Regions from separate parts of the Homo sapiens genome. Here all the other regions are linked to region 2. The links are contacts of gene promoters, found by promoter capture Hi-C in blood cells and fetal thymus (Javierre and others, 2016). All regions are on one chromosome and are shown on one strand. The core of a region is centred on a gene start or on the middle of the fragment in contact, and the rest is flanking DNA. Distances in the headings are between cores, read along the strand shown.

Region 1 (2,700 bases), core at 160-2,659, 1.7 Mb after region 2:
CACATGGTCTGCAAAATAGGAAGGTTTTTGGGAGGCAGGACAGTTCTAACCCTGCCCATTCCATGGTCCATTTTCAAAATGGTGGGCACTTTCACGCCTCATTCTCACCCTAGTCTTTGATGTCAGGAGGATCCTCAGTATGGTGAGAATAATACTGTATTTAAGATGAAGCTGATGTCTGTGTAAGGTCAGAGTAATCATCTTTATGAGTATTATCCGAAGATATTTGGATATCCGAAGATATTTGGATATCCAAAGATATTTGTAAGGTTCTCCAAACTTCTAGGTTTTTATTAAAGGGCTGGGCTCTTCCTGGTCTCAAACAGTATTTGTGGTTACTTTGGCAGATGAAGCACATTTTTCCTGTGCCCTATGTTTTTGGACATGCAGTATATCAAAGTGTTCGGTGGAAATAAGCATTCTGTTATTTTTTTCTTAGCACATTTTTTGTCTTCTCTTCCATTCAGTTATGTTGAAAGCTACGTGTTGGATCTGTTTTTTAGTTATGACATTAGATCTTCATCTGAGATTATCTAAACTACGTTGGTTTTCTTTTGATTACAATCTCTTTTTTTTTTTAATCTGCTAACACAAGCTCATGTTTATCTAGAAAATGCGCTTTCTCCTCAAAGTCATGAATCAGCATGAATTTCCTTTGAGTTAGTTCAAATCATCCAGAAATTAACAAATTTCAAAAAAGAAAAAATATACTAAAATGTAGTCAAAGCTTTATAAGAATACTTTATGTGCTATATCTCAGCTAGTCACTGAGTAGCTGTCATAAACCTATGACATAAACCTACTGTCATATACCGATGACAGTAGAGTATTGAAAAACCAGGTGCACCAGGTTCTTGTTTTCATTCTTGATAGGTTCTAAGTTCATTAAACCAGTCTCGCAGTTACTCAGAGAATCACAAAACCAAGTGTTCCTCTTATTATCTTGCTTAGCTCATTTTGGGTAAAATGCATCAAACGGCAGAATGAAAAATAAAAAAAAAAATTTGTTTTTATAGTTGAATGACGTTCTTCCTATGTATAAGTTATAACTTGAAAATTATTACTGCTTCCAAGATTCCTAACTTTCAAGCCACATGAGAGTGACTCATGGGATCCTGGTGGCCCCAAAGGATTAACAAGGCTTCCAGATGTGCCTAACACTTATTTCAGGAACTAGGGCAAGCCTCCAATATTATCTACAATGTGTGGAGAGAGGGTGGCGTGTCCATGTGAGTATACTGTAAGCCAGAAGGTTGCTGAAGATGTCACAAAATTTAATTGCTGATATTAAACTAATCCTTCCAAAGAAATTCCCAGCAAGTAGAAAAAAAGTAAATTCATTGGTGTTTTTATTGAGAGAGATTACCAGGAGTGAAAGATGCCTGCTTGAAGCAATGAAACAACAGACAGAATATAAGTTTAGCCTCTCTACCTTATGAGGAGTAAACTAAAAATTGCCCTATGCTTTCTTTCAGCCTCAGCTTTCCTCCTTTCAGAAAATCCTCCACAAACCGCACATCTACCAAAGAACCATTTTTGATTCCCGCTCTTCCCTATGTTAAAAGTAATCTCTTGCTCTTCTTAGCTCACTCAGCATTTCTTTGTACCTCTCATGATATTATAGCTCTTAGCACTTTCTTCCAGATATTCTAGTAAGTTACAGATACAGCTTAAATTTCCCCCATTGAACCCCTGAAGGCCAGAAGGGTCCATGATTCATCTTCTGATTCCCCAAATTGCCTGTGCAAGTTCCTTTTAAAATTCGTGCTCAAAAAAAATTGTTTATGCATTCCACAATTATTTGTTGAAAACGCATTTTGTGCCAGCCCCTGGGCTGGGCCCTGGATAGCCAGTGGTACATGAAGCAGAGACAAAATGAATAAATGACCATACCAAATACTGAAATCCAAAACAGTGCCTACTTTTCTGCTCATGGTATGTGTATGCTCTGATACGATTCTGTTGTGTAATTCTGAAGAACAAGTCAAGATAGCATTTGGCGTGACATCAATAGTCAACCACGGTGTCCCTGGCTGCTCATTCCAGGAGCTCCGTGCTGCGAGTGAGAATGCCTTTTAAGCTAAAAGCTTTGTCTTTCCCACTGTATATGGAAAAATTGACTATGCACTTTCATGGAGAAGGTCTAGCTAAGAAATGTTTATATTGGAACAAGTCCCATCTCTAAATCTGGGCTGTTGCTGAATGGTATTTTGTTTCCTTGGATCAGGGAAGGGGTCTGGAAACATCTGTAATGAAAGTATTGTTTTAAAATCAGCACAATTTTTTTCTTCAAATGACAGATAACAGAATTGCTTTAAATCAAATACTCTCAGCCTTCCCCATTCATTTCCTTTCATAAATGTGTATTATTTTGTTGTCATTAAAATGGCAGTGTGAATACTAGATTTGTTGCACCCCAGACATTGCCATTCCCTTTGCAGTCATTTTCTTTTCACTTTAGTTTGTGTTCTTTACCTTCACTTTTAGAAACGTGCTGTAACAGAATAGCTATCTCGATCACAACAGTTATCTGGGGGCAAAATTTCAAAGCTACAAAATGATGGTATATTGTAAAGCAATTCTGAAACTATCCTCCAAAATTTTTACTCAAAAGAAATGTACACATTATGCTATTTATAAATGAAAAGTTAAAGAAAATACATATTTACATTAAATAGTATTTCACAAAAATCTAAAAAT
Region 2 (2,700 bases), core at 143-2,642:
ATCCTCTCATCCTTCCCCTTACTGAGCAGAAGTGTCTGACCCTCTGGCCTTCTATGAACCATTGGGACCCACACACAACATGTCAGATCCAAAGAGCACTGGCCTCCGAACATGGAAGTAGGTGGGCAACTGAAGGAAAGGTGAATAGTGAGAACAGGGGAGGGGAGGACAAACGGAAGAAGGGAAGGGCCGGGAGATAAGACATTGACATGTGCAGTGAGCTTAGCTGGGCATGGTGGTGTGAGACTGTAGTCACAACTCCTTGGGAGGCTGAGAGGAGAGGGTCGCTTGAGCCCAGGAGTTCACATCTATCCTGGGCAACATAACGAGACCCTATCTTTTAGAGAGAGAGAGAGAGAGAGACCAGAAGTCCTGGACATAGCCAGGCTGTGGGCAGCCCACGGATGAGGTGAGATGTCAATGTGATCACCCCTGGAAGTGAGAAGGAAGGTACGGTGGGGTTATTGAATACACTGTGTCATTCAATTACTGTCATCGTTTGGATTTTATATGGGATGGGGGCTGGGAATTCCTGGTCTACTTGTGCTGGAGAGATGTTTAGGCTTTCTCAGATGGTTAATAGAGGGCACCAGCAGTTGTTTGGTGGCATTGGAGGAGCAGCTTTTTGTATCCCAAATGACCCTTTTCAGATAAAATTGAAGCTGGATTGAGACTTCGGGAGGATAAGTATAAAGTTGTAAGTGGGTGGGATAGAGAACAGCCATGCGAATGTCAAATCTCCTGTCTTTTCACTCCTGTCTTAGGCCGAATGTGAGGTGCCCCGTTCTTTCCTTTGGTGGAGCCTTTGAAGATTTTTCTTTTCTTTAAAGCTCACTTAGCAGTTAAAGACTTGAGATGGGCTGTAAAGCTGTGAAAAGCCTGGGAGGAAATGGTGTTGACATGAAGGGGTAAAGCCAAGCTTGGAGGGGTGCCAGTGGCAGGGACCCACACTAATTCCTCTTGTTCTTATGCCCTTCTAAATATGTCTCTGAAGCACAGGAGAACATTCCTAGGGAAAAACAACGTCCACTCACCTCATTCCAAGAAAATCTGTAACAACGTCCAATTGTCTTTGAGAGGAAAGAAGATGACATTGGGAGACACAGCATCTAGAGGAAAAGCGAGAACCACTGGTCTTCCTTTCAGACTTCACAGTGGGATCTTGGCGCCTCGGATAAACAAAGGCACTGGCAGGAAGGAAAGCGAAAATCAGAGGAGAGGTCTGGCAGGCCACAGCCAGAGCAGAGGCAGTGGGTGAGAAAACCCTGGGTTTGAGGACCCTGGTTCTCTTCCCTAACAGCCTTTGGGTCCCTCTTTCTGAAACAAGGCTTGAGAGCATGTCCTCTGGCCTGGGGGACTTGGGTGAGTCTGAGGCACCCCAGGTAGCAACGATGGCAGGTTTTGCACTTGAGCTGGGGAGAAAGCCAGTGGTGCTGAAAGCAATGGAGATTGAGGTACAGAGATCTTCCTGCCGAACCCATTCCCAGGCTTTCTGCCTTTCTAGGAATGGAGAGAGAGAGAGAATGCCTTGGCTGGTTTCCTGAAATCCAGTTCATGGAGCCACAGCCCCAGTGAGTGCTCACTCAAGAAACAAAGGCTCAAGAGAGGACAGGCACCAGCTAGGAAACTCCACTCCGAAAGGGATCAGCTGTTGCACTCACAGGCACACTGCTTTGGTCCAGGAAGTCAGTAAAAGGCAAACAGGATCCCAGCGAGGTCATTTGTTTTGGAGAAGACAGAGGGAGGAGGAGGGAGGGGCAGCCGTGTGAACGTGCAGTTATGTCAGGGCCTCCCCAGATCCCTGGAACGTCCTGCCTGAGCACAACAGGGAAAACCTCCCCCTGCTCACTAGCCCTCGGGAAGTACAGTTCTCACTGAATGTCTGTCAGCATAATTAAAAAATGAACACCCTTCCAATCGCAAGATCAACGCCAAGGGTTACCTTCCTGGGGAGCTGTCCAGGGGGAGCATGGTTTCCTAAGAAAACTTTTGTGATCTGTGTAGAATATTTTTGCCCCTATTTTTTTTTTTTTCTTCTGAGACAAGATCTGGCTTTGTTTCTATCAGGACATGTTTGGATGTTCTTCCAGAAAGTCTACTGGTAAGAGAGCTCAGTTGGTCTTCTAGGAGAGATAATTGTTGACATATCAGGGGCCAAAGGCTCATCTCTTCATTCCCTGCACTTGGGGAAGAGGTGGCATCATTTCACCCTTAGAGCACAGGATAAATATTATGATTATTCAAGCAAAAAGACATTCTACTGGCTACTTTTGATTTAGCATTACAGTTTCTAATTTATCCCAAAGATGCACTGACAGAAATGGAAAGATGTATTCACAAGGCCACCTATCACAGCACAATTTGTGTATTAGAAAAAACTCAAATGTCCATCAATAGGGGACCCTCAACTATGGTACATTCACACAATGCAGTAGTACACAGCTGTAAAAAAAAGAAGAAGAATATCTCTACATGCAAGTATGAAAAGATTTCCAAAATATATAGTTGATAAATATTAAGATATAATCGTTAAAACTCAAAACAAAATGAAAAAAGTCAAACCTAACTAGATATTGAGTTGGTGGCACATCCTCTTGGGAGAAAGTATTTCAAGTGACATTAAAACCTGGGAATTGACTGTAGACCTCAAGTGGGATATACCCTTAGAACAAAAGGAACTGCAAAAACACACACACACAC
Region 3 (2,700 bases), core at 132-2,631, 1.8 Mb after region 2:
GCACTTTATAGTTATCGTATTTCATGCTCACAACAAATTTATTATCCTCATTTCACAGATGAGGAAACTGAAGGTTAAGTGACTTGCTCAAGGTTACATAGTTAGGAAGTGGTAGAGCCCACCTGGTCTGAGACTACAAAGCTAGTCCAGACCCCTCCCAACTGTGTAGACAAGGGCAAGGATGTTGCTCACAGCCTCACCCCATGTCCCTTTTATGAGGACCCTAGGGACAAAGTCCCAGCTGTATTAGTAACCAAAATTAGTTCTACTTCTCCCAAACAATTAGTTTTGTATAAATTGTATGAGCCTTGTGAATTGTATACTGACCAGACAACTTGAGCAAGTTGTTTAGTTCACCCAAACCAAGTATACTGTTCATGGTGGAATTCATATTTATCCTCATTCTTGGATCTACTTAGTCACCACTTTTTTTTTGCTTTCTTTCACCCCACTTTAAACTACTGTGTCACAATCTGCCCTAAGTCTTCTCTTCAACTAGGGGAGGATGTGGTAAATAACTACAGGTATGGAGGTGAAGAGAGTTTATAGGCCCCTGTCACGAATGAGGGAAGCACGGGAAAGCACTCTGCCCATTTCTGCAAAGCACTTTTAATGAAACCGTTGTGTCACTCCAGATCCAAGTCTCCATGATGTTTGATGGCCAGTCAGCTGTGGAAGTGCACTCGAGAACCAGTATGGATGACTTAAAGGCCTTCACGTCTCTGAGCCTGTACATGAAACCCCCTGTGAAGCGGCCGGAACTGACCGAGACTGCAGATCAGTTTATCCTGTACCTCGGAAGCAAAAACGTAAGCACATGAGTTTGAAAGGAGGGAATAATATTTACAAGGAAAGCTGCTTTTTCTCTTGCCTAAAATAAAGCCACCTAGGCAAACAAACCAAAACAATGCCCATTCTGGTAACTCAGAAGATCTCATTTTAATGGCAAAATTAAAAGAATGACTAAAGGACAAGTCATTTCTTCTCTGTGTGGGATATTGTGGGGATTGTTTCCTATCACCATCACACTACTAACTTTGATGAGTCTGAATGAAACACCTCAAAGACTTTCAGAAAGACAGAAGCCTATTCTGTTTGATGCTGAATCCTGTTTAGAGATGCATAGTGATCGGTACTGTCAGGCTGTATTATATTCCTGGGTTAGCCTCACAAAATTAGCCCATTCCTGGCAGCCAACAAATTTCCACGAGCCTGAGCAAGATGGGGCCAGCAGACTCTGATGTGGCCACAGGGAGGCTGGAAAGGAAGAGACACTGCCTGCTCACAGGAGCTTCGGATAATAATTCAGGCCAGAAGTCACTTGTATATACCCAAATATTTGGATTTCTGATTGTCCTTTAAAAAAGATGATGTTCATTCTTATGAATTTTATTTAAATGACTTCTTACTTCTTGATATTTCAGGCCAAAAAAGAGTATATGGGTCTTGCAATCAAAAATGATAATCTGGTATACGTCTATAATTTGGGAACTAAAGATGTGGAGATTCCCCTGGACTCCAAGCCCGTCAGTTCCTGGCCTGCTTACTTCAGCATTGTCAAGATTGAAAGGTACAGTGAATCCATGACACAGGGCATATATGCACATATCACAAGAAACCTGTTGAACGTGCACATGTGCGTGCACACACACACACACATACACAGTCTTCCTGTGGATGTTATAAATAGCATTTTCCTCCCTTTATTCTTGCTCCGTTTTCTTCCATTATTCTTATATTCTTTCCCAAACACCTTAGTAGGAAAGAAAAAAAAAAGTCATTTCTAAATCACGATCTGATTATTAGATTTTACCTGGTCAATCCATGAATTAACTTCAAAATGGAATGTCTTTCTTCTCTTTCTCATTGATTGTGGTATTTTGTAAATGCTTATTAGTGTCACAAAATTACCCATTTTGTGATGAGGGAGCATTAACATTTTGACATTTAAAAAGTATTTTCTATGAATTATATAATAACAAGTGAAAATTATTTATCTCAATAGGGTGGGAAAACATGGAAAGGTGTTTTTAACAGTCCCGAGTCTAAGTAGCACAGCAGAGGAAAAGTTCATTAAAAAGGGGGAATTTTCGGGAGATGACTCTCTGCTGGACCTGGACCCTGAGGACACAGTGTTTTATGTTGGTGGAGTGCCTTCCAACTTCAAGGTCAGCCATACAGCTATATTTTGACCTATTACAAATCTACAGTAATTGTTTTTATAAATCCATAAACCTATAATGACTTGGGGGTTGCTGATATCACTTTAAGAGCTTAGTTCATGGGGGAGTAGAATTCTGAACCAGAATCTATAAACCTGATGTGTAAATCTGGTCTATGCTACTCATATTTTCATAATGTCAAATGCTTTCAAGTTATAGCTAACTCCTGAAGATCAGTTCATTCATTCTGATACATGCATATGTAATTAATATTACCCCCACCTGCCACAGGAAGGTCCGTAGCTTGTGGTGTCACCACAGTTTAGATCTAATCTTCAGCTTTGCAGTGGTGGTTTCAAAAATTCAGTTATCTCACCTAATACAGGTATGAAATAAAGTATCTGGGATGAGAGAGGGGGTGAGACTTCGGAGAGAGTATGAAATCTGATGAAGGGGGATAAAGGAAAGGTCGAAGAAGATGGGAAGTTGATCTAGGGTTCCAATTTCAGGACTATTATTACTAGTTATGGGCACATAA
Region 4 (2,700 bases), core at 90-2,589, 1.6 Mb after region 2:
CATAAACAGTGGGAAGCCATGCTTTTTGTTTTGCTTTTTAGTTGTTGTTTTAGAAAAATTGTTGATTTGTAGAAATGTAGCTAAGATAGCATAGAGTTTCCTTATGCCTTTCACCCAGCTTTCCCTAATCTTTATATCTGCTAGACCCACAGAACATTTGTAAAAAACTGAAATTAACATTGGCACATTACCATTAACGAACTACAGATTTCGTTCACATTTGACCACTAATGTCCTTTACTTTCAAGGGATCTGGTCCAGGGTATGACCTTGCTTGTATTCATCGTGCCTCCTTAGTCATCTTCAATCTGTGAAAGTTACTCAATCTTTCTTGTTTTTACTGGCTTTGACACTCTTTAGGAGTGTCAGATATTTTGTAGAACATCCCTCAATTTCGGTGTGTCTGAAGTTTTCTTAAGATTTGGGAAAAGAATCCCTGAAATGATTAAATATTAGAGTGAGGTAGAAGGAAGACTTGAAGGACTCTGATGTTTTAAGATGCAATAGACCTGTCAACAGTGAGAACATTTACCAATGTCCATAAAAAGCACAAATCAAAAGACAGGCTTTAGAAAGAAGATAATGGTTTTAGCTCTGGCTGTGCTGAGTTTGAGGTGCTTCAGGTCTTCCAGCTAAAGCAGTTCCACACTTATTTGGAAGTCTGTGTCTGGTGCCTAGATGAGAAGATCAAGCTGGAGGCAGGAATTGTAGAGAAAATGGTGGCGCTCAAGCCAAGAGATTGGGTGACATCACTCAGGGGGACTTGCAAAGCTGATGAAAAGAACAACAAATAGGTTGGAAATTCAGATAACATTTAAGATTTGGGCAGGGAAAGAGGTACTAGCAAAGGATACAGGGAGGAAAAAAAGTAGTTCAAGAGCTAAGAAGACAACCAGATATGAGTAGTGTCTAGAAAGTAAACATAGCAGAGAGTTGTGAGAATGGGGTGCTGCTGTCATAAAAAATAAAAAAATTTCCAAAGGACCAAAAGAGATGAGGACACTAAGGTAACAAATGTCACCCCTCCTTCTAAGAATGTGAAGGTGAAAAGAAACCAGAAGCATAGTGTGGCATCTTGAGCAGAAGTTATGGTAGAAAAGAGATATTATTTCCTTTCTTTCTTTCCTCATTAGGATCAAGGAGACTGAGAAGCCAAAGGGTTGGAGGTGAGAAGGCTCAGAAGGCTGACAGAAATCTGACCAGGACAGTTGTGTCTCTTGACTTTCAAGTTACCTTTGTAGCCCAAAAGCTTAGGGAGGAATAATTGTGCAATGAGAAAAAAAAAAAAAAGGAAATTCTTAGTGTGGGTTAGGCAAAAGCAGAGCTAACAGAAGATACTGTGAGATTTCACAATTACCCGTAGGGAATAAAAGAGAAAATAATAAAGAATGTCATTTATTTAAAAGGTTTAGTGTTTGGGGAAGCTTTTGTCATACAAAATTGAAGCTATCATTTTAAAATCTAGGATTACTTGAAAAAAAAAGCATAAGAATACAACTTTATGCTTTTTACCCATGATACAGTTTTTGAAGTCAGTCAACCTATAATGTTCAAGTGGTTCAAGAACAATAATACAATGTGTTTCCTGAGGGTTTCAAAAATGAAATGACCTTGACTATGGATGGAACTCCAGTTAGCCACTATAATTCTGTAAGCAACATCTAAATATCAAAAGAAAAATTGACATTTCATTCTTCATGTGGGAGTAAAGGTTTTAATCTTGTCTGAACTAACAACAACTGATTCATACACTTTATAGAAGGACATATTGAAAACATAAATAATACTGAACTGAAATATAGACTATTTATTAAATGGCTCTTTAAAAAAACAATGATGTGAGTTACAGAAGTTTACTCTTCCCTTTTGCAGTGCAACTTGAAATTTGTTTTGATGCGAACAAATATACATTTATTTACAAGAAAAAAGAAATATTTAAATTACATTTACTTTTTCAAATTAAGGTACGAACACTGGTTTAAATCAAACCTTAACTGAACACAAATAGAAATTCTTCTCTACACTCCTCACTTACTCTACTATACCAGTCCATACTTTATTACGACGGAAGTATGTTCTGTACAAGAGCCTCCATGGTGAGTAGTGAGAGGTAGAGACTTGAGTCTAATTCCAGTTCCATTGCCAAGTGGCAAGCCACTACCTTCTCTGGATTTCAGTTGAAATACATTTTCCAGATTTTTTTATTGCTGTCTCCTATATTAAACACTATCTCCTGTATTATGTTAATCCATTCTCTTTTCCGAGAAGCAGAGAGATAACATTTTCTAATGGGGAGAGTAAGGCAAAAAGAAGTTCATTGACTGACAGGAGTTTGAGACCAGCCTGGCCAACATGGTGAAACCCCATCTCTACCAAAAATACAAAAATTAGCCAGGCATGGTGGTGCATGCCTGTCATTCCAGCTATTCGAGAGGCTGAGGCACAAGAATCACTTGAACCGGGGAGGTGGAGGTTGCAGTGAGCCGAGATCACGCCACTGCACTCCAGCCTCGGCGATGGAGTGAGACTCCATCTCAAAAAAAAAAAAAAAAGAAGTTTATTGACTGAGTACAAAGAACAAAGACATCAAGAGAGATGGAGGCGAAACACAAGCTGTCAGTCAACACCAGCATTGTACATTGTGGCTAACAGGATATGCTCTGCACTGCCAGAGTTCAAATCCAGCCTTTGTCACTTACT
Region 5 (2,700 bases), core at 159-2,658, 1.7 Mb after region 2:
GTCATTTAGAGAGCTCAGAAACCACCATTTAAGAGGCTACTAAGATAACTAATATTAAGACCGTCACTACTCTTACCCACTACTCTTATAAAGAAAACCCTGCAGTCATGCAAAACTGCAACACATTCATGGGTCATCAGATCAATTTTATGGGTCATGACCAGGATATACTCTTAAATACAATAGAGAAGTTTTAGGTACATTATTACTTTGTGAATCTTTTCTCTGAGACACATATATATGGATATCTATATCTATCTCCATATCTACACCAATATAGATATAGATACCAATCTGTGTACTGCATCACAATGAAAACATGTATGTTTTACTTTGCGGCAAAGACTAAAAATGTGAAATTAAATGGTCTAAATTAAATGCTTCCTACTGCAATCTTAGTGTCTTCCCTCTCTTGTTTTCTAGTGGAAACTAAGAAGCTTACCATCAACCACAACTCTCCATTAAAAAATTATAAATTGATCTTCTCTTAGCCTTATTTCTCTAACTTGGAAATGTGGAATTTCCTTGCCTTTTTTTCATAGACAAATGTTGTTATTCTTTATTAAACTTCCTCCAAATGGGGTTTATTAAATTTTAGTTTTAAAGTGTGAACTGATGTGTGTGTTTTTTTTTAAATACTGTGAATGGTGTTTAGTGACTCTTTCTTTACAGAGTAAAAAGCAAGGGGAAATAGGTTTGCATAGCAATCAGAGGGACTTCAGCCAGATATAATGAAAATTTCCTGGTCGCCAGGGAAGTGCAAACTACAATGGGTCAATGGGGGTGTATGATGTGAAATCTTGGACTCTGTAAGTCTGTGGAAACAAAGCAGATTCTTATCTGTCTGGAATTCTTTAGACATAAACTTGTCTGATGGGCGGGGAGCGGATTTCCAGGCCCATAATGCCATTTCTGCCCTTCATCACTGAGACATTCCAAAGAAATATCAAATGCATATCCACAGCCTAATCACATAAACCAGGAACAATCTCATAATGTGTCTCAAATGGCACACTAATGATATCTGGGGAGGGCAGCTGATGATTGTGCAGGTCAATTGGTGCATGACAGGATAGTTTAACATCCCCAAAAGCCACTTAGCACCTCTCAATCTCATGAGCTCATCACTAGGATAAGGGAAAGTCATGTGTTCCTCGCAGCATTCTGAAGACAAATGAAATACATATATGAACAGCACCCACACAGGACTTGACAAGTGTAAGAACTCATTAACTTCCTTATCCCTCCCTTTAACATGTTAGCATCTGAAGAAACAGATGCTTTTAAGAACTGAAGTTCATGAAAGACTCAGTTGCTATCCTATAGCTAAGTTGCTCTCCTATAGCTAGTGATTGCTGAAACGAGAAGTCTTTCTTTATTTATAGGGAGCATGACCTCACCCTGACTAATACTTAATTGTGGTCTTGTTTTGTTTTGCTTATACTGGAAGAAAACATTAGCATTTTTTTCTCCCTTACTGTTACGTAATACCTTCTTATTCTTCCTTGCAATGATAAGACAGTGTTAAAGGCATTTCTGTTCTCCTGAAAAGTGAAAGGAGGGAAAAAGTTATGTAACAAAGAAGATTATATATACATCATCTATCACTGAATGGTAGTATAAATAGTTTATTTTAGTATGTTTTGTATGTATCATTTAGTATATTCATTTTAGAAATGTTTAGATTGTTTAATAATCACTTTCTCTGATTTCTTCTCAGAAAATATTGACCAAAATCAATCTTTTCAATAATCAAAATGGTTTGGTGTGTCTGTTGCAGAAATGCAATGCTGGATTCTTTCACACCCTGTCGGGAGAATGTGTGCCCTGCGACTGTAATGGCAATTCCAACGAGTGTTTGGACGGCTCAGGATACTGTGTGGTAAGTTGGGGCACCTATAACACTTCACGTACTTCACTGGGCATTTGCATCTTGGGTGAAGATAAAATATTTTTCGGATGTTTGAGCCACATAGGAGCAAACTGCTAATCAAGTGCTTTTGTTCACCCTTCAGCTTTTCCTGTGAAACAACTCATATAAACTACTTCTGATTTTAAGGGTCCACCAAGGCATATGCATGAGTGTGCACGTGCACCCGGAGGCTCCTGCCCCACCACCCTCAGCAGCTGGTTGCCTGCTGTAGACCAATGGCGGTGGGATTGAAAATGATACATAGAGGAGGAACCCATACATCCAAATTCCTCTGTAATCGTATAGTTTGCCATATGTTTGGCTTCGTTCCACATAAACCAGGAGAATGAAACAGTTGTTGCCTAGCCTATTTTAGAACCTAAAATAACCAGGTCTATAGATCAAAATTAGTTTTTAAAAAAGAAATTTAAGTTTGAACCCAATAGCTGATGAAAATGAAAGCTTTGCCCTTGTGGTCTTTGCAAGTCTGTGTTTAAGCCCCCAGGAGACTATTTTTTTCCTTAACTGAAATGAATTCTCCAATAGACTGTTCTTCATTGAAGCATGATAGAGCCTTGTGCGAAAGATTGAGAAGTCTTCCAGCAGAAAAGTACTTGCTACATATTTCCCATTTTTAATGAATGGACTGACAACTTAAGTGAAAATGGGTGTTGAAATATTTACCAGAAGTGGCTTCAGTGGAAGTCATAGAGGGCATTTATAAGAACTTATGCTCAAATAGCATGTTTTCCTTCGTGAGCTGTGTGATACAGCAGAAAAATTCTTCA
Region 6 (2,700 bases), core at 175-2,674, 1.7 Mb after region 2:
CCAGTGGCACTTAAAGTAAGAAACAAGCTCATTTTGTCATGGCCCATGAGACCCTACATGACCCAGCTCAGACCCACTTTTCTGACCACATACCCAACTCTTTTCTCACTCACTGCACTCCAGCCCAACAAACTCCTCTCTATTTTTCAAATATACCATACTTATTTCCTGCCTCAGGATTTCTGCACCTGCTGCCCTCAGATCTTCAAATGGCTGGTGTCCTTATGACCCTGACATCCAAATGAACCCCTTACCCCACTCACTCCTCATCCCACCCCACCTGTCATATGTTATTCAAAATATCTTTTACTCCCTGAAATTAGCTTGTTTGCTTGTTTGATCACTTGTTTATTACCTGTATCTCTCCCACTAAACTGTAAATTCCTTGAAAGTGGAGACTGTGTTCAAAGGTATTCTACCCCCAGAAGAGTTCCTGGTCCATAATGAGCACACAGGGAATATTTGTTGATGGAATGAATGAGTAAAAGTGGTATGTCCATGGTCTATTTTCCACTTATACAATTAAAAACATTTTTTTCAAAGTATTGTTCCCCAGATGACCAACCAAAATGGCTAGAGGTTTAATACTGCCTCCATAAAAGTAAACCCTTTGTACTACAAACCCTTTGTGCTACATTCTGGGATTACAAAAATAAGTTAAACTCAGTTCCTGCCTCCTAGGATTGTATGATGTGATGAGTTAAATAATCACTTAAAATTATTACAATCATTTGACACATGAATGAATAATAAAAACACATGGCAACACTTAACTCATCCTGAGGAGGTTAGGGATGGCCTCAAAAAGGAAGTGATATTTGAGCTGAATTTGAAAGGAGGAGTAGAGCTTTCCAGGTAGATTAGACAGAAAATAAAGGAAAATTATTCCAGAAAGGGAAAATATTTGCAGAGGTAAGAGACCAGAAAAAATTGTGGAGCATTAAAACAACAACCAGTTGGTCAAGATTAGACCATGGGATATAGCAGGTTGGGGGTCATGAGAATTGATGAAATTGGTGAGAGAAGAGCGGTCAGCTGATGATGTCATGCTTAGAAATTGGACTCATTCCTGCAAAGCAACTGGCTGATTCTGAGAAGGGAAATAACATGGTCAGATTTTCTTAATAGGAAGATTACCTTTCCTGCAAGACAGTGGAGAATGGATTAGAATACTCAAAGACTGCCCTCAGAGAAAGAAGTGAGATCACTCAGGGGAGAGGAAAGGGCTGGGAGTCAAATGCCAAGTTTCACGGTCTCTTTCTTGGTCAGGGAAAGAGGAGACCCAGGAGATAGCATAGTCACAGAAGCTAGGAAAAGAAAAGAGTTTTAAGCAAAGACAGTGGCCAACACTGTAGCAAACCACAGATGGGTCCAGTAAATAAGGATGGGAAAATGTCAAGTGGATCTGGAGATTTGGGGCCAGGTGTTGGTGATCTTGGCAAGAAACATTTCTGTAAAGTGCACTGTGTCAAAGCAAGAGAAAAAGCTAGAAGGGAGCCTAAAGTGAAAGAATAAGGTTTTTTGTTTGTTTGTTTGTTTGTTTTGTTTTTTGACGGGAGATACTTGAGCATGTTTATATCTGAGAAGAGTCAGTAGCTAGAAAGCAAGAATGAATAACGGGGTTACCAAGACAATGGGGCAGCATGCTTTATACAGAAAATGAACATTTTCCTCTTAAAATTGGAGAGAAATTTTTGTGTAGGTGTAGCTATAAATACATCTATAGAGTTTGCGGGGAAGGGCTGGGGGCTGGTTGCAAAAAGCTGGGGAAATACCTGTTCATTGGTTTTGGAGTCTCTGAGGGAGTTAACCAATAAATAGTGACCCTTTCCAGAACCCAAGTTCTAAACAGGTGGAAACATAAATAAAATAGTAAATACAGAGACCAAGGAGGTTGCCTTATTTCTGAAGCAGCTAAGCAGCAGGCATGGCTTTAGGTCTCTTAGCCAAGTGGGGTAGCTGACATTCAGTCCCAGTATTAAGCAGCTGTGCCCACCCAGACAGGCAACACCGTAAGGCTTAGATGGGGGTTCTGCCCAGAATAGTTTTAACATGGAGGAACACAGGAAAACTCAGGCTTTCTGCTGGCAGCTTGCTCCCAGGACAAAGAAGGGTGGAGTTGAGCAGAGCCTATAGAGTTATTCTTCCCAAATTTACCCACAAAATCAACCACTCCCCTCTCACAGGAGTAGAGTGAGGAAAGGGGTAGAGAGGTCTGGAGTTTCACTCACTGTGCTCCCTGCATATAAAGGAGACATCAGAAGTGTGGAAGAAGTGTCCCCCACTAACAGTTTATGACCTCCAAATAAAAAAGAAAATAAAGTGATCTGTTTACAATCAGATGGGGGTGGGTGAAGGAAATGTTGGCTTAGGAATCATGACAATGTTTAGAATCACTATTTGGGTGACTAGGAGAACAAATCTCTTTGCAGCATTGAGGGGCCAGCCAAGGCTGAAACTCACGGGTTTGCAGGAACATCCGTCTACACAGTTGCACGATCTTTAAGCAAAATCGTAGGTCTGTGGTTGTATTAAAAACCAAGAGAGCCTGTGTTACAAGGTGATTTTTAGGAAGTAGTCAGTCACCTGAAAGGTAACTGAAAGGTCAGATGAAAACTGAATGATGTCCATTAGATTTAGTAACTTAGATGTAATTAACTTCTCTTTTGGTAGAGTAATGGAGTAGAAATCAGACAGGAC
Region 7 (2,700 bases), core at 13-2,512, 1.6 Mb after region 2:
AATAACATTGTTTCTTTCAATGTTGCTTTGTCATAATATTGGTGAGAAAAAAAAAAAAATCAATTCCTGGCTGGAGCCACTGTCTGTGTGGAATTTGCAAGTTCTCACGTGAGTTTTCTCCAGGTACTTCAGTTTCCTCCCACATCTCAAAGATATCCTCGTTCCTTGGTACGTCTGCATGGTTCCAGTCTTAGTGAGTGTGGCTGTGTGTGTGTGAGCGTGCCCGGCAATGGAATGGCCTTCTGTCCAGGGTCCCCAGCTTGAACTCTGAGCTGCCAGTATGGGCTCCAGCCACCCAACACTCTGAGTTGGAAAAAGCAGGTTGGAAAATGATTGAATAATGAACAAAAATTGTTATCAAATAAAAATTCATGAAGTCTACAATAATCATACAGGCATATGACAATAAATGATGCTGCATGGAAGCGTTCAGCGAGCCCATCATATTTGTTGTTGGGTTTTTTTGAATTGCATGGTGGTAGGAGGTGCTTATAATTTTTGCTTTAAAACATTTATTCCTTGCTTTAACCCACCACCACTATGACTGCTGTCACTCACTGATTCACCAAACATTGGGTAAATAATTCTCACACTTGTTTCTATTAATCTTTCTGAAATGTACGTATAGCTCACATTTATTTTCATATTTACCATTAGAAGCATTTTGGTCTTTCTTTAGAAGTTTAGTGATGTTTTTGTGACCAGAACTATGTCATAGGAATTTAAATAAATCTTAATTATGTCAATTAGCCTAAGGTAAAATTGGCTTCATTGTATGTTGTTTTGCTTAAAGTTGCAGTTTCCAAGAACATATAGATAATGTTAAATGGGGGCTTATTGTATAATTAAATAGTATTTATTGAGCTCTGACTACATGCTAGTCTGTGTTAATGTTTATTTATATTCTTTCATTTACTACCCATAATAATTCAGTGAAAATGTTACCAGAAAGAGGTTTCAATCCAGACCCCAAGAGAAGGTTCTTGGATCTCACGCAACAAAAAATTCCAGGCGAGTCCATAGAGTTAAGTAAAGCCAAGTTTATTCAGAAAGTAAAGGAATAAAAGAATGGCTACTCCACAGGCAGAGCAGCCTCAAGGGCTGCTGATTGCCTATCTTTATGGTTATTTCTTGATTATATGCTAAACAGGGTGTGGATTATTCATGAGTTTCCTGGGAAAGGAGTCGGCAATTTCTGGGAACCTAAGGGTTCCTCCCTTTTTTAGACCATATAGGGTAACTCCCTGATGTTGCCATGGCATTTATAAGCTGTCATGGTGCTGGTGGGAGTGTATTTTAGCATGTTAGCGCAATATAATTCACGTATAATGAGCAGTGAGTCCGACCAAGGTCACCACCTTGGTTTTGTTGGGATTTGACTGCCTTCTTTACCGCATGCTGTTTTATCAGCAAGGTCTTTGTGACCTGTATCTTATGCTGATCTCCTGTCTCATCCAGTGAGTTAGAATGCCTAACCTCCTCCAAACGCAGCCCAGTAGGTCTCAGTCCTATTTTACCCAGCCCCTATTCAAGATGGAATTGCTCTAGTTGAAATGCCTATGACAAAAAGGCATCATTATGCCCATTTTACAGGGAAGGAAACTTTCAGAGGGACTAAGTTACATGCCAAGCTCCCAAAAGTACTACATGCAGACCCAGGATTTGAACCCTGTTTTATTTTATACAAAACCCATCCCCCTGCATATTATGCCATTTTGTCTCAAAAACAATAATAGTACCCACAGAAAGAAGATGAAGAGGAAGAGCTGGGAGCACATATTTAACCAAAAATAAGAAGTCCATAGGTCTTGGACGAATACACTCCTACCAGCACTGGGCAGGCAGACAGAAGAGGGCCCAGATTAAATTAAAAAGTGTGTGATTAATTGGCAGCTAGTAAAGAACAAGATGAAATCCTTCAGAAAACAAATATATGAGTTTTGGTGAGCTGAAGAGATCTGTATCTGAAGTCAGAATATTTAATATACATCATATATAATTAATATTATTATTATTTAATGTTCTTTTAAAGGGTGACTGGGTCAGTATAACTGAGCATAATCTGTTTTGTCTCAGAGTCTGGCTATCTTTTTTCCCAATATCAGTCTCTCAACTAAACCAAACATGTTTTTAACTTCTCCCACTTAATTTAGTAGGTTAACAAGTCTATGTAAAAGAAGAGTATCATAATTTAGCTTAATAGTCCCTTGCAATACTATTTTAATATTTTAAAATCAAAATATCACTTTAAAACCTATAGGAATTATTTTTGCTTCCTTTGGCTTTGGTTCTTTTGTATCATACAATTTTATCATTTAAAATCAAAGATCTTACCATCAGATTTACCTGGGCTATAGTAGTAATTTTACCACTTACCCATGGCCAAATGTGTATGACAATCCCTACTTCATGAGATTATCATAAAGATGAAATTAAATGAGACAATTTTTTTTTTTTTTTTTTTTTTTTTTTTTGAGCTGGAGTCTTTCTCTGTCACCCAGGCTGGAGTCAGTGGTAAAATCTCTGCTCACTGCAACCTCCACCTCCCGGGTTCAAGCAATTCTCCTGCCTCAGCCTCCCGAGTAGCTGGGACTACAGGCGCCTCCCACCATGCCTGGCTAAATTTTGTATTTTTAGTAGAGACGGGGTTTCACCATGTTGGCCAGGCTGGTATCGAACTCCTGACCTCATGATCCACCC

Evidence for each region. Contacts are between HindIII fragments. The CHiCAGO score rates a contact against its expected background, and 5 or more counts as called.
Region 1: a contact is called between a fragment that was not itself captured here and the fragment with the promoter of LINC02880 in region 2, in 2 of 17 cell types (naive B cells and total B cells). The highest score is 6.5, in naive B cells.
Region 3: a contact is called between a fragment that was not itself captured here and the fragment with the promoter of LINC02880 in region 2, in 4 of 17 cell types (total B cells, naive B cells, total CD8 T cells and 1 more). The highest score is 7.8, in total B cells.
Region 4: a contact is called between a fragment that was not itself captured here and the fragment with the promoter of LINC02880 in region 2, in 3 of 17 cell types (total B cells, naive B cells and megakaryocytes). The highest score is 9.1, in total B cells.
Region 5: a fragment that was not itself captured here is called in contact with the fragment with the promoter of LINC02880 in region 2 in 9 of 17 cell types (naive B cells, naive CD8 T cells, total B cells and 6 more); the score reaches 14.6 in naive B cells.
Region 6: a contact is called between a fragment that was not itself captured here and the fragment with the promoter of LINC02880 in region 2, in 8 of 17 cell types (total B cells, naive B cells, non-activated CD4 T cells and 5 more). The highest score is 18.9, in total B cells.
Region 7: a contact is called between a fragment that was not itself captured here and the fragment with the promoter of LINC02880 in region 2, in 4 of 17 cell types (total B cells, total CD4 T cells, naive B cells and 1 more). The highest score is 9.6, in total B cells.

What each region holds. Positions count from the first base shown.
Region 1 is chr6:112,232,460-112,235,159 of GRCh38, reverse strand. The region is part of intron 2 of LAMA4 (laminin subunit alpha 4); the gene reads left to right. Among named protein-coding and RNA genes, the nearest start is that of LAMA4-AS1, 2.8 kb to the left of the region's middle. The HindIII fragment of the contact is 1,360 bases long and covers 730-2,089 here.
Region 2 is chr6:113,903,079-113,905,778 of GRCh38, reverse strand. It overlaps LINC02880 (long intergenic non-protein coding RNA 2880), which reads right to left and starts at 1,392. Exons shown (of 4, transcript NR_027060.1): 1 at 1,035-1,392. The HindIII fragment of the contact is 3,143 bases long and covers 922-2,700 here.
Region 3 is chr6:112,140,228-112,142,927 of GRCh38, reverse strand. It overlaps LAMA4 (laminin subunit alpha 4), which reads left to right. Exons shown (of 39, transcript NM_001105206.3): 20 at 636-809; 21 at 1,425-1,570; 22 at 2,006-2,168. The region is part of intron 1 of LOC107986633 (a long non-coding RNA gene); the gene reads right to left. Among named protein-coding and RNA genes, the nearest start is that of FAM229B, 54 kb to the right of the region's middle. RefSeq lists an enhancer at 913-2,112. The HindIII fragment of the contact is 5,539 bases long and covers 1-2,700 here.
Region 4 is chr6:112,290,155-112,292,854 of GRCh38, reverse strand. All of the region lies in intron 2 of LAMA4-AS1 (LAMA4 antisense RNA 1), which reads right to left. The region is part of intron 1 of LOC107986632 (a long non-coding RNA gene); the gene reads left to right. Among named protein-coding and RNA genes, the nearest start is that of LAMA4, 37 kb to the right of the region's middle. The HindIII fragment of the contact is 175 bases long and covers 1,252-1,426 here.
Region 5 is chr6:112,215,550-112,218,249 of GRCh38, reverse strand. LAMA4 (laminin subunit alpha 4) reads left to right here. Exons shown (of 39, transcript NM_001105206.3): 3 at 1,781-1,882. Among named protein-coding and RNA genes, the nearest start is that of LAMA4-AS1, 20 kb to the left of the region's middle. The HindIII fragment of the contact is 1,937 bases long and covers 440-2,376 here.
Region 6 is chr6:112,159,287-112,161,986 of GRCh38, reverse strand. The region is part of intron 13 of LAMA4 (laminin subunit alpha 4); the gene reads left to right. Among named protein-coding and RNA genes, the nearest start is that of FAM229B, 73 kb to the right of the region's middle. The HindIII fragment of the contact is 6,360 bases long and covers 1-2,700 here.
Region 7 is chr6:112,255,961-112,258,660 of GRCh38, reverse strand. The region is part of intron 2 of LAMA4-AS1 (LAMA4 antisense RNA 1); the gene reads right to left. Among named protein-coding and RNA genes, the nearest start is that of LAMA4, 2.7 kb to the right of the region's middle. The HindIII fragment of the contact is 3,914 bases long and covers 1-2,700 here.